5 separate regions of the Homo sapiens genome follow, and all the other regions are linked to region 1. The links are contacts of gene promoters, found by promoter capture Hi-C in human tissues and cell types (Jung and others, 2019). All regions are on one chromosome and are shown on one strand. Each heading gives the region's core, a stretch centred on a gene start or on the middle of the fragment in contact. The rest is flanking DNA. Distances are from core to core; before and after follow the strand shown. Region 1 holds the start of S1PR1 (sphingosine-1-phosphate receptor 1). Region 2 overlaps SLC30A7 (solute carrier family 30 member 7). Region 3 overlaps SLC30A7 (solute carrier family 30 member 7). Region 4 overlaps EXTL2 (exostosin like glycosyltransferase 2). Region 5 overlaps SLC30A7 (solute carrier family 30 member 7).

Region 1 (2,737 bases), core at 238-2,737:
GTGGGAGGAATGGGAAACCTAGAGAACTACACCCCATTTTAACTCCACTCCTGCCCTCTCACCACCCCACACCCCCTCACCCCCGGATTTCCAGCCATGAGATTCTCTGAAGCAGTCACCAGCTTAGCTGCACGCTCAATACCAGCCCACGTCTCTCCTCGGAAAAGACTCAACTGCCAGTCTGAGGGCGAAGACACACACCTCTGTCCCCCATGCCCACCCCCAGCCCCCCAGTTCAAAGATACTAGCACCACCTCCTAATTGCCATGTGCCATGCAAGAAATCAGATTTGCAGGAAAATCATTTGAAAGCGTAAGCCATTTGGGGGCTCTATTAATAACTCTCTAGGAGCAGGTGTGCTTAGGGTCCGAGGGCGCAGTGAGGTGTGGGCAGCCAGGCCCGCCCCGCCTTGCTGTAAACAGGAAAGCTTAGCGCCTCCGTGAAGCGACTGCCTTTTCTTTCTTCTTCTTATTCTCCCCGCCTCCCCCCGCGCCCCCCCACCCCACCCCCCACCCCAAGCCAGGGCAAGTAAATTTAAAGGTATTCAGTTAAAACCATTCATAACAGATTGCAGCAAATCCCAGAAGTTTCGTACATTAGTTGATTGCATAAATATTTTTTGCTTTGTTTAGTTTAGCCAAAACATACACAAAAGAGAGAAATCAAACTACTCATGACAGCCATAATACATGCTACCACATTTCTAATTTCGATTGCAAAACTACTCTTCAGAAACTCACATTAAACTGCTCCCTGGTGCATTGCTAAATTTGCGTGGGCAGTTTTATTTACTGCAGTCCCCCAACACGTTGACTCCTCTCCTAGGACTAGAAAGTTACAAAGAAACTTTCTAAGACGGCACTGGTCAGCAGAAGTCTACTTCTAAGTTGCTTAAATATTTCAAGGTAATGCAGCAATGCAATAAAATGAGGTAATAGAGATGAGAACAATCCCAGCAACTCCGCGAACAGCAGAGGCTGCTCAAGCCAAGAAGCTCCGCATTTTCCCCCAACTAATTTTATACCCTGCTCCTGGGCAGTACTAATTTAAGCCATTACCCACGCTCCACACCACCCACCATATTCTTTGTCTATAGGATTTCCAAAATTTAACGCCTTCCCTCCTATTCCTCCGACCAACTGCAATTTTCACTGCCCCTACACCCGTAGGTTCCACAGTTGGGAATTAACCTTTTTTCTGAACTCCATAAATCACAAGTGCCCAAGAACAATCTGATCGAGATGGGCTCCTTAGTAGCCCAGAGATGCAAATTTTCAGCGCCCGGAGATGCATGTTTTCTAAGTTTTTGTTTGCCTCGTTCGACTTAAAAATTCGTTTCTGACACCTAAGCCCTACCACAACCGGGCTCCCCGCGCCCGCGACCCCCGCCATTCGCCGCCCCCTACCTCGCTCAAGCAGGGCGAAGTTGCGTTCGGAGAGCCCGGGATCTGTACGGCTCGCTTCGCATCTTGCTGCTGCCCCCGACTGACTGCGTAGTGCTCTCGCAAACTTACTCGAGTCGGGGTCCCCTCCCTCCGCAGCGGAGCACTCCAATGGCCAGTCCCGCTCGCCGCGGCCAGTTCCCTGCCTGCTACGCGAAGTCACCCAGCGCCGCGCCAAGGCTGGGTGGTTTCTTCAGGAAGAGGCTGGGAGGGGTTAATGCCTTAACCCCCCACGCCCTCTGTCAGCTGGGGGCCCCCGGATCTGAACTGCTGAGACGCACTGTCCAGGAAAGATCTGGGGCAGAAGCAAAAAAAAAAAAAAAAAAAAAAAAAAGAACCCCTCCTCCCCAAACAACAAATGAAAGAAAAAAAGAGAGAGAGAGAAGGGGCGGAGCCCGGTAACCCCTGGATTCTACTGTATAAATCACTGCCCTCGCCCAGATAGACGCTGATCCCTGGCTGTGGAGAGGATTCTCCCGAGCCCCTGAAAAAAAAAAAAGGTGGAGAGACTTTGAAAACTTTTCTCTCGAAAAGTCTGAGGAGGCAGAGGACGGCCCGGAGTCTCGTAGCGCACCGCCCTGGTCCCACACCCCCCGCAGCCCTAGGAGGATCGGTGTGCTGAGCTTGTGGCCAGGAGCTCCCCGAGCCACTTTCGCGCGAGCAGCAGAAAACCTGAGCCGCGGCCCGGCGAGTGTCGGCGGCGCTCTGGGGAGGAGAGGCTGGGAAGGGGCTGCGAGAGGTACGGAGGAGACAAGCAGCCCGGGAGGGAGAATGAACCGGGAGGTTCCTGTACTCCCCCCGCCACCCCAGATCCTCGTGCTACTCGCAACTGCGGTCTGAGGGGCAGTGGCTTTCCCAGAGTGCACAGAGAAATGAACCAGCGCCGGTTTTGGTGTTGGGCGAGGGGTTTCCCTCAGCTGAGCACAAAGTCAGGCTGTGTGTCCCAGATTCTGGCCAATGGAGAGGTCGTTGAGGGGGTGGGCTGCTGCTGAGTCCTGAGAGATTCAAAACGCCTGGGCAGCTCAGGAATTTCCAAAGGGGGAGATTCTCGGCCAGGAGCTGCGGAGCAACTGCAGCTGCCCAGCAGGAGCCGGCACCCTTCTCTCACATTCTGCTTGGGAGTCGACTCAGAGGCCTCAAATCTCATTACTAGCACTTTGCCCACCCTTTTCTTTTGCTTAGATGCTACTTAAGAACGTGAGGCTGAGAGGCGGACTTGGTCAGATCTGCCTGCGTGACAAGCTCAGGACAGGACGCTTCTGCCCTTGCATTACTGTTGTAAAAGTTTCCACCCA
Region 2 (2,700 bases), core at 173-2,672, 260 kb after region 1:
CTACTAAAAATGCAAAAATTAGCTGGGCATGGTGGCACACGCCCATAGTCGCAGCTACTCAGAAGGCTGAGGCAGGAGAATAGCTTGAACCCGGGAAGCAGAGGTTGCAGTGAGCTGAGATTATGCCACTGCACTCCAGCCTGGCTACAGAGCGAGACTCCATCTCAAAAAATAAAAAATAAAAACAAAAATAAAACATACATGACTCTTGATGGTACATTTCTATGCTGGCAAATACATTTTTGGATACAAAGGCACTTTGAAAACCCAATATGGTTTGGTTCATAAGTTTGCAAGGTACAAACAATTTAACAAACATGATTATACTGAAGAACGTCAACAATTATGACATTACGTATAGCACAGATTTCCAATTTCTTTCTTTTTTTAAAAAAAAGTAATACTGGTTTTGTGGGAATGAAAGCAGTGATTTCCAGCAGCTGCAGTGAAGACATTCCAGAAGACTGGAGGCCCACAACTGAAATTCTTACTGGCTGGGATGAGAGGATGGTGGTGTGGGCATTCAACATGAAAACAAACAAACAGAAAACAAAAACAAAAAAAGAAAGACAAAAGGACAAATTAACATCCTAAGCTAAAAACCTCAGAAGTCAAAAAGATTTGGAGGAAAGAGCACAAAAGAAAAGACCAAAAGTCCAGGAGATATCCTCTTAAATCTGATCCCTTAGCTGTGAACTCCCCACAAAGCATGAACGGCTGACTCTACCCCGTCTACTTAGTGCTCGGGAGTTGTAGTGATAATTTCTCTCTTTTAAAAAGCTGGGTACAATGTTTTGGATCGTACAGTACCAGAAAAATTTGGTCCATAAAAGGTGCATAATTTCTTTCCATTCACTACATGGCTGCAAAGTCAATCTGTACGTAGAGCTGTCTCACTCCAGCCTGAAAAGTAAGAAAAAAAAAAGTTAGAAAATCTAACAAGCTAATAACACCCTACACATTTCAGGAAAGTATTTTTTTTCTTTTACAAATCTCACTTTTTTAAAAAAAGAAAAGAATCATTTCAGAAACAAATATATTCATAAGCTACAAAAAATAATCTCCATTTACCACTACAAAAAAACAAACAAAAAAAAAAGAGCCATGTTAACAGTCACACACCCTATCCAGATATCCAGGTGATACTTAGAAAAATGCAGTTCACCTTCTACAGTTACTCTGTTAGAGGACACCATGATGCTTGACTGGTTGGCTCCTAGTTGAAATTGATACATCAACCCTGTCTAAATCCTCCTGTGATAAATGATTAGTAAACAATTTAGCAAGTATAACCATCTATTGGAATTATTTTGCACTCCAAGTTCTCTCTTCTGTTTTGGATATGAACTTGCTACTCAAGGATACTGCTCTCTAAATTCTCCCCAATATCTTCTGTATTATCAATTTACTTCCTCTCAACTAGATCACTTCTATTAGCATACAAACACACTGTAGCTGTTTCTATCTTTGAAAAAACCTCATGAGAAATTATCTTTTGGGTACAATGTACACTATTCAGGTGATAGTTGCACTAAAAGCCCAAACTTCACTACTACGCAATATATCCTAGTAACAAAACTGCACTTGTACCCCCTAAAGCTATTTAAAACAACAACAAAAAGCAACAAAAATCTTTACTTAACCCTACATCCCCTTCTGGGCTCCCCATCTCCGCTCTTCTTTACAGCAAAAAGCCTCAAAAGAGTTATCCATATTTGCTGTCTAAAATCCTTTTTCTCACTTCTCTCTTGAACTCATTTCAACCAATCTTTTGCTTCCCAACACTTCCCCCAAACTGTGTCCAGGTCACTTCCACATTGCTTACATTAATATCCAATTCTCAGGCCTCTTCTTCCTACTTCACCTATCAGCAATAATACAGATGGTCACTCCTGCCTATAGATATATATATTTTCCCTTTTGGCTTCCAGAGAATATTCACTGGCTGCCCTTTTACCTCACTTATCAGTCTTTCTCAGTCTTCTCTGCTAGTTCTTCCTCCTCTCTGAAAACTGAAATCGCCAAAGGCTAAAGAAAAAAATAAAGCTTGGTACAAGAGCTGGTAAATACCTCAGCACTCCCAGTAAACTTATCACCTTGCGATGTATTATACAACTTATTCACGGTGTTTATTGTTTATTATTGACCTCTCACTATAATATAATGTCTCCGAGATAAAGGATTTGGTCTTCTTCTTTACATTGCTGACTCCTAGAACCTCAAGTGAGAGCCAGCACACAGTAAGTGATCAATAAGTATTTGTTGAATTAACTAAAATTCTACTAATTTCCTTCTTTCAACCCAAAATGATCTATTTTTAATTAAAGGAACCCATTAGTCACAATAAGCCCTTTCTTCTCAGTACCACAGAATAAAAGGTAAATTGGAATATTTAATAGGAAAAAAATCAGAGTGAGGAAAAAATCTATTAGCACTACCTTCTTACAGTAATTTCTGGACTCCTCAAAGCACTGTTTCCTAGCTTGGCTTTTTTTCTAGAATTCAGGTAGGAGGGCTCTGTACAATACTGAGTGCTTGAAAGGATTCAGGAACTACTCGAATGGATAAAAGGCTTGCAGGCTCTAGAAGCTTGTCAGCAAAAGAAATATATTTTAATTTTGCTGGTGCTTCTCCTTTTTTTTCTTTTTTTTTTTCCTGTGGAAAGTTAAAGCCTCTGTTATTCAAATTTAAGAAAAATAT
Region 3 (2,700 bases), core at 177-2,676, 330 kb after region 1:
AAGTCAATAAAAATGTTCTGAAAGCAATCATCAGTTCAGTCTTTAAAAACAAGCTTCTGAAGTCAGAGTACCTGGGTTCAAATCCCAGCTCCAAATTTACTAGTTCCGTGACCAGTAAGTTACTTAACTTCTTTGTGCCTCAATTTAGCCATCACTTCAATAGAGTATAGTATAAAAGTGTCATAATTGTTATAATAATTGAGTTAATATATATGAAACATTTACCACAATGCTTGTCACATTAAAACCACATTAATATTCCTATTGCTAATTATTAATAAATCACATTATTAATTATTAACTATTATTAATGCTTATAATACCTGGTGTTCCCAAGCACAACCCATACCTCTTAATATTTGGCTAGATGCTAGAGTTTTCATCAGTTGGAAGTGCTACAAACTAAAAGTCAAAAACATTCTTCACACATACAGAAAAAGCATGGTTTTAAATTTTTCTCATAATTTGGAATAATTATATAATTAGAAACTAAGTCAAAGCACATCATTTACCAACAAGAAAAAGCACAATAATTTATAAACCTCTGCCAAATCATTACAAAAGATTTTAGAAAATGTCTTAAACTTTTATCATGAACCTTATTTATTCCACTGAAATATAGATATATTAGAAAGTTTAAGTGCAGATAGTACTTTAACCATCTCATCTGACATCTAACTCAAAGCAGAATGAGAATTGGTGAATAAATGATAAAGCAGAATAATAAAACTGATACATGAGGACAAGGTAAGGGGCATATTATTCATGCAATTCTCTTAGATTTAATATTTTAAGATTTGTCCTTGTATAGTTAGATTACCGAAAATTACACACTTGAACCATAACATCTATGTAACATGGAAAATAATGATTTAACTTTATTTTGAAGTATGAAAGACTCATGTGAAGAATTTCTCTATACTGTGATAAAACCATTAATAAAGACATTGTCTATGATTTTGTTTTCGATCCCCCAAGAAAAGATTAATATGGCAAAATACTGTTAAAATTTGATTTCAGAAAACTGTCTTTCTACTCTGATAAAATGATAGAGTTGTGTTCACTTTATGGAATTTTATAACTAAATTTAAAAGTCAATTTTGGGAGCTAAATTAGACTATATATTTAATAGATTAATTTTTTCCTCCCTAGGTATGGTTTCTAAATGTTTTTATTTCTTAATGTGTTTTATTAGTATATATAGCTTTTATTTTAAATTACTGTAATCAGTTTTAGAAGGCAGGGCATTCATTGTAAATAAATATAAACAAACATTTACTGATTTATTGATCTATATTTTACTATCTATTTCACTATTATTTAGTAAAACACTGTCATGGGTTGAATTGTGTTCCTGCGCCCAAATTCATATGTTGAAGTCCTAACCTCTAGTACCTGAGAACGTGACTTTATTAGAAATGGACTCATTGCAGATATAATTAGTTAATATTAGGTCATTAAGGTGAGCCCTCATCCAGTGTCCTTATAAAAAAGAGAAATTTGGAAGAAGATACATAGATCACAATGCGAAGATAAGGCAGAGATCAGGTGATGCTCCTACAAGCCAAAGACTGTCCAAGATTACTAGAAAACCAACTGAAGCTACAGAAAGATCATGGAACAGATTCTTCCTCAGAGCTCTCAGAAGAAATCAACCCTGATGACACTTTGATCTCTGACTTCTAATCTCCAGAACTGTGAGACAATAAATTTCTGTGGTTTAAGCCACCTAGTTTGTGGTGTTTTATTACACCAGACTAGCAAACTAACACACACTCCTTTTTTTCAACAAATTTACTTTATATGCACCCAACATAAACCAAATATTGCCATAATGCAAAAAATAAAAATAAAAATAAAAATTCCTTTTGCACAGAATAGCAGTCAGGTTCCTTTTAAAGAGGTGTGGATATAGCACGGCAATTTTAATACTCATCAAAATGAAATTTTATTTAAATTTTAAGTAAATTTAATTAGCATTAAAATGTTATTTTTAGTACTTAATAAAATGTGACTACCTGAAAAACTACTCCCTCTTCTGAGATGGAAGAACATTATGTTCTCTTAAAACACTGCAATATGAGATCTTTTCCCTTAAACTTGATATCATGATTTAAAAATTACCTAGCTGCAAATACACAAACTCATGGGAAAAACAGTCTACTTTTAGCTCTCTGCTGACCTATCACATGTAAAAATATTGCTTATGAGGAAGGTCAATTTTACTGCTCATATTCAATCTTAGCAAATGTTTCTGATTATGAATTATATTTAAACTATAAATTTAAACTATAAATTTCCTTAAAAAATAAAGGTAGCATAGAGAATACCTAAGGTTACATGACTGAAACACCAAAGGTAACTTCAGTAAACCATGATAAAGTAAAGCTGGTTGTGAAAATCCACTTACTTGTCGTAGACTCCTCTTTAAGCACTGCTAGTTTCTCTAAAATGTATTTGTAAACTCTTTTAAATGACTACCTTCTAAAGACATTTTAACATGGAAAACCAGCCGGGTGCAGTGGCTCGTGCCTATAATCCCAGCACTTCCGGAGGCTGAGGTGGGTGGATCACCTGAGGTCAGAAGTTCAAGACCAGCCTGGTCAACATAGAGAAACTCCCATCTACTAAAAATACAAAAATTAGCCAGGCGTGGCTGTACTCCCAGCTACTTGGGAGGCTGAGGCAGGAGGATTGCTT
Region 4 (2,768 bases), core at 135-2,634, 360 kb after region 1:
TTGAAAAATAATCTCAGTTCTGGAGATATAGTGATAAAATGATGGCAAATTTTTAAATGCTTAATTTTTCCAATTTTGTGTGTATAACATCTTTTGTCTGCAACTGCGTAACAAGCAGGGCAAGAAGGAAGGGAATATTAAACTGGTTTTTTAAAATCTCTTAGGCCAAATTACCTTATTGAGGAGGAAGGGAGAACTGAATTTGAATCAACTAAAATAAGATTGATATCTTTCCTCATTGGAAAAAAACATGAAAACACAGGGACTCGTAAGAATGCTAACATTTGTATGTTGTTTCCATTTCTACTCCAGGTGTTGCCACATCTGCAAACTTCCTGGGAGAGTAATGGGGATTCGAGTGCTTCGATTATCTTTGGTGGTCATCCTCGTATTATTACTGGTAGCTGGTGCTTTGACTGCCTTACTTCCCAGTGTTAAAGAAGACAAGATGCTCATGTTGCGTAGGGAAATAAAATCCCAGGGCAAGTCCACCATGGACTCCTTTACTCTCATAATGCAGACGTACAACAGAACAGATCTCTTATTGAAACTTTTAAATCATTATCAGGCTGTACCAAATCTGCACAAAGTGATTGTGGTATGGAACAATATTGGAGAGAAGGCACCAGATGAATTATGGAATTCTCTAGGGCCCCACCCTATCCCTGTGATCTTCAAACAACAGACAGCAAACAGGATGAGAAATCGACTCCAGGTCTTTCCTGAACTGGAAACCAATGGTGAGTTGCAGTGTAGTTCTCAGCCTGGAAAGGCTGCCGCTGTCCAGAGCTGGGACAGACATGTGAATTTCTGGCCTTCTGCTTAACCGTCTGGAGAAAAATGAAGGAAGTTAGTCCTAAGAAAGCACTTTGGAAAGCTTGAGGGACAATTTCCAAGATGTCAAGAAGTGGTTTCCTGGCGAAGAGGTTAATATTGTAATAAAGGATATGCTATAATTACATATGATTGCATTACAGTTGATAGTAAGATGCCATTTAGCTTATGCTTAATATATTTTTTTGCCACTCCTCTTTTCCTCCCATTCCTGACAGTTTCATGAGGTTGCAATTTGCTTAAAAGAATCTTGGCTTTATTCATTTATAGGCCCAATAGTTTCTAGGATGATGGATAATAACTGCTTGATTATTTTCCCTTCAGGCAGTTATACAATCAGTTATGATACCAAAAAAATTATTTTCTACTGGACAAATCTCCCCAAGAATACATTGCTTATTTATTGTTGGGTCAGAAAATACTTCATTTGAATGATCTATATAGACACTATTGTATTTTACTACTTTTGTTTTCATTTCCGAACTATTCAACTTAAATTTTTGTCCTTTCATTTTAGCAGTGTTGATGGTAGATGATGACACACTCATCAGCACCCCAGACCTTGTTTTTGCTTTCTCAGTTTGGCAGGTAATGTTGCTGTCTCTTTTATGAAACCGTCTTTATAAGATCTTGACTAGTACTTAACCACGGCAACATGGTTAATATAGAAGTTACCTAAAATATTTTAGATAATATTTATCTAAAAGATGGATGAATTTGTTATAGGCTAATCAAGATTTTCTGAGCTTAGTTCAGCCATCCTGAAAGTTATAGTATCTTTTATCTAGATTTAATTTATATTTTGGTGTATTGGGGAAAAGAGCTAGAACTGCCTTCCAGAGAACAATGGGGAAATGATGTGGTCCAGCAAAAACTAGAATGAGGAGATGTTTTGCCTAGACCACAGACATGTGTCTCAAATGATAAGCCTATTTCTATGTTAATAATGTGTATAACTTTTTGTAAAAGGAAGTATTTATTACCTCCACAAAATTTAATCCTGGTTCTGAGAGCATTGTTTAGAAATTTTGCAGTAATAATTTTACATGTACCATTGTGGTAGGAGGGTTTTGTTTTATTTTGTTTTGTTTTTTCCTAAATCATAGCTTGAATAAGCAGGCATAAATTGGTCAGTATCCTATAAAAGCCGCTCTCTCCTATTGAATATGTGTTAGTAATAGCTAACTTTTACAAGTTGCACTGCCATTACCTGAAACCGGAACTGCATGGAAGTACTTCGAAGCCGTGTCAAATAATTAAACACTGTGCTACCCAGTAAATGATCGAATTTATGCCATGGTAACTTTTAAAATTAGCTTCTTGGGATATAACAGCATTCGATATTAATGGTAAGTGATCACAATACTCAGCAGATATCAGCATTTTTAAAACTTCAGTTTTTAATTTCATGCCTAGTGTGCTGACCAACGAAATTTTTCCATATCAACAATTTTTTTTTCCAGTCCTTGGAATGAAATGAAATACATGAAAGCTTCTTGGACAAAAAGTTCTAATGTGATAATTCAACTGTGAGATTTCTATTGATGCTTAAAAATCCATTTGCCCAAAATGTAAAAATGGAGGCAGAATATGGGGACTGTGGTTAATTGGAACCATCTGAGTAAACTATAAATTAAAGATATATAAATATGATTTCAGGTTTTATTTTTAAAAATATCAAAAACAATTTCAGTCCATTGACCAACTTAAATTCAGTCCAACCCAAACCCTGCATAGCATAATGATCTGAGGTTTGTGTATAAGCAAGCAAGATTCGAGTAGACATTCATCTGTGTCTTTGTATTTGCCCATTACCTCCACTTTTAGTGTTTTCCCTTTTCCCTCTCTAGCCAATTGTGAAATTTCTTTCATTCTCCTAGATTGTATAAATAGCGCATCTTCTCTGAAACCTCCCAGCCTTTATCCCCCATCCC
Region 5 (2,700 bases), core at 135-2,634, 280 kb after region 1:
AATACTAGAGAGAGAATATATTTGGAAATGAAAGAAAATATAAATTGTTTTTATATACTAAGGGGAAAAAAGCAGTGTCACCAAATGACACATAGATATACTTGGCAAAATGATTTATTCTATCATGATAGAAAATCCAGCAAATGAATTTTATTAAGCAATCAATATTAAGCGATTATTAAGGATCTACTACTATATATCTGGCATCAGATTTTCTGGAACCAGGTGGGACCTTACTCTCGAGTTGTGGCAATGGTGACCTAGAGCACCAAAGTAACTTGTTTAAGGACACAGCTATTAAGCAGGAGAACTAGAACAGATCAGGTCGTTAGACTCCAAGTTCAGTTTTGAAAAGTTCAAGTCAACAAACATCTGTTATATGCCAACCATGTAGCAAGCATGTGCTAGACACTGGAAATACAAAAATAAATAATATAGAATATTTCATCTCAGAGAAATTCATAACTTTATTTTTAATAAGCCTGCAGAGAAGGCAATGGAAATCAGTCATCAAACTTATTTAGGGCCAACCATTTAGAAGAAGGCACATATGAATTTAAAGCAACTACATATTATGCTTGTATCCATTTTCATTTTCCATGAACTTTTGGTAAATGGTTTTCTTAATTGGTATGTTGATAACTTCTTTTTAAACATACCTTTAAAAGTAAAGGGGAAGAGAAAAAGGAATAGAAGAGGCACTGACTCAACTGCAACAGAAGGCATACAGTATGAGAAATAACATTACTTAAGCAATAGGTGTGAATAACTTTTGTGAACAACTTTTAAAAATTTATTGTTTTAGAATATTCAGGTTTAGTCTAGTTGTTTCCCCCAAGGAGCTAAACACAGTAACAGATGGTGAATCCCATCTATAATAATCCTTGAGGAGATCAGCCTTAAAACATTAAAGACATTCCCTTAGACAGTCCAACAGTCTCTTAATAAGTCACCTAGAAAAAACATCTACAGATTTATCCAAATCTTTGTTCAAATTTTTATGTGTGTATTCCATGTGTGTTGCCTTCCAAAGTCTGCTACTCCCTGCCACCACCTTTTTAAAAAATAACCTAGTACTTCCTTTTTTCCTCCTAAAATTCGCTTTCACATGAGGCCCTTAGTTTGAGGACTCTAGAATTAGTAAAGAAGTTACATGATCACAAATAATATCATATTAGAATTAAAAGGAAATTTAGAGATCACTCATTTTAACACCATTCAAGAACAATATGTAGATAAACATTTTAATAAAATGTTAGAAATAAACATATATTTTAAAATTAACTAAATTATAAGACATCATCACTGATATAAGGAAATAAAATTATAGTGCATTTTTATCTCTTTTTTTCATTAGGATCAATTGTGGTTTTTATTGATTTGCTTATACTGAAATTTGGAATGGTTGTCTTTTTAGGTAGAATTTTAATAAAATCTTTACACTCAACAGCAGCAAGCATTTCACCAAAGCAAATGGATATGTCACACTAACTTTCTCCAATAGCAATTTAAAAATAATGCAAGAATTTCAGCTGTAGGAGCAATAACTAGGTCATAAAACTATGGTAGAGAATAAAGGTACTTGCTAAATCACACGGTGATACACAATTTAGAACAAGGCCAATTTCTATAATAATTTAAAGAGTCATAAAAATGTAAAAGAAACCTTTAGAAACTCTAGTTTTTGCCTTTTAAAATTGTGTTTAGCTCAGGAGTTTGTGTCCATATTTTTCTGATTAACTATTGTAATAGAGAAGCATAAACCAGATTTTAGCTTGGATCTATCTAGCCATAATGAAAGGAAATGTAGAAAACGACAAGCTTAGCAAATTCCTGACTGAGCTAAGACTTAGAGCTACATCCAAACCCAAAAAGTAAGCATTTGGAAACAATTAGAGGTTCACTTCTGGTTGACTAACCCAATTCTAGCATTCACAATGAAGCACCATTTCCCTATCATAAATAAAAAGAGATGAGTCATTAGGTATGAGTTTACCAGTAAAACAGGGCAATGATTTTATTCTTCAAAAGCTGAAGGTAAATCACAGTTATAATCTTACAATCATAAACATAATATTAATTTGAAAGCTTTACCCTTAAATGCTAACAGATTAAATAAGCAGTAGTTACTTATTACTCTTTACTGCCAGTAATTTTTTACAAGTAAAAATATATTCAAATCTTACTTCAGAAGCAGCTTTTAGTGAAAGAGCCTCACTACTTCAACAGTAAATAAAATTATCTACCAGTAATTATAAACAAACCAAACAAAAAAGGGTATGCATTACGAAAACTTCTGAAGAACAGTCTACTGACAATCACAATGTTTAACAATAAAAAATTTCAGTTAAAATTATTACTTAGATCTGAGAATAAATGTCAAGTAATATTAATTAAAACAAGATTACAGATTCATCTTGATGAATCAGCTTATGAGCTAAGTTTTCCTATATATTGTAGGGGTTCTTACAATCTACAAACACAAAGAAAGAAAATTATAGTTTTAAAAATAAATTTTAAAAATAAATTTGGCTTATGTTGTATATCATATTTTCAGGGGACAAAAAAGCCAAAGAAAACTGGCCCATAATGGTAACGCAATTCACATTTAAATTAAATATTCAGTCACATTTGCATAAATATAATTAATTCATAGTGATGGATAATTACCTATTAATCCAGAATTTCATAAGCCTTCTA

What was found. Contacts are between HindIII fragments. The study calls those that stand out against the background at their distance.
Region 2: a fragment that was not itself captured here is called in contact with the fragment with the promoter of S1PR1 in region 1 in 2 of the 25 tissues and cell types used here (lymphoblastoid cells and spleen).
Region 3: a fragment that was not itself captured here is called in contact with the fragment with the promoter of S1PR1 in region 1 in 1 of the 25 tissues and cell types used here (lymphoblastoid cells).
Region 4: a fragment that was not itself captured here is called in contact with the fragment with the promoter of S1PR1 in region 1 in 1 of the 25 tissues and cell types used here (small bowel).
Region 5: a contact is called between a fragment that was not itself captured here and the fragment with the promoter of S1PR1 in region 1, in 1 of the 25 tissues and cell types used here (thymus).

The regions. Positions count from the first base shown.
Region 1 is chr1:101,235,769-101,238,505 of GRCh38, reverse strand. It overlaps S1PR1 (sphingosine-1-phosphate receptor 1), which reads right to left and starts at 1,487. Exons shown (of 2, transcript NM_001400.5): 1 at 1,407-1,487. S1PR1-DT (S1PR1 divergent transcript) reads left to right here and starts at 1,978. Exons shown (of 2, transcript NR_104626.1): 1 at 1,978-2,181; 2 at 2,625-2,737. RefSeq lists an enhancer at 2,308-2,397. The HindIII fragment of the contact is 36,645 bases long and covers 1-2,737 here.
Region 2 is chr1:100,973,013-100,975,712 of GRCh38, reverse strand. SLC30A7 (solute carrier family 30 member 7) reads right to left here. Exons shown (of 11, transcript NM_133496.5): 11 at 1-903. The coding sequence ends at 856. Among named protein-coding and RNA genes, the nearest start is that of DPH5, 51 kb to the left of the region's middle. The HindIII fragment of the contact is 4,137 bases long and covers 1-2,700 here.
Region 3 is chr1:100,901,554-100,904,253 of GRCh38, reverse strand. All of the region lies in intron 2 of SLC30A7 (solute carrier family 30 member 7), which reads right to left. Among named protein-coding and RNA genes, the nearest start is that of SLC30A7, 6.8 kb to the right of the region's middle. The HindIII fragment of the contact is 3,955 bases long and covers 1-2,700 here.
Region 4 is chr1:100,875,448-100,878,215 of GRCh38, reverse strand. It overlaps EXTL2 (exostosin like glycosyltransferase 2), which reads left to right. Exons shown (of 5, transcript NM_001033025.3): 3 at 313-740; 4 at 1,352-1,422. Among named protein-coding and RNA genes, the nearest start is that of EXTL2, 18 kb to the left of the region's middle. The HindIII fragment of the contact is 3,736 bases long and covers 1-2,768 here.
Region 5 is chr1:100,954,747-100,957,446 of GRCh38, reverse strand. The region is part of intron 8 of SLC30A7 (solute carrier family 30 member 7); the gene reads right to left. Among named protein-coding and RNA genes, the nearest start is that of SLC30A7, 60 kb to the right of the region's middle. The HindIII fragment of the contact is 6,198 bases long and covers 1-2,700 here.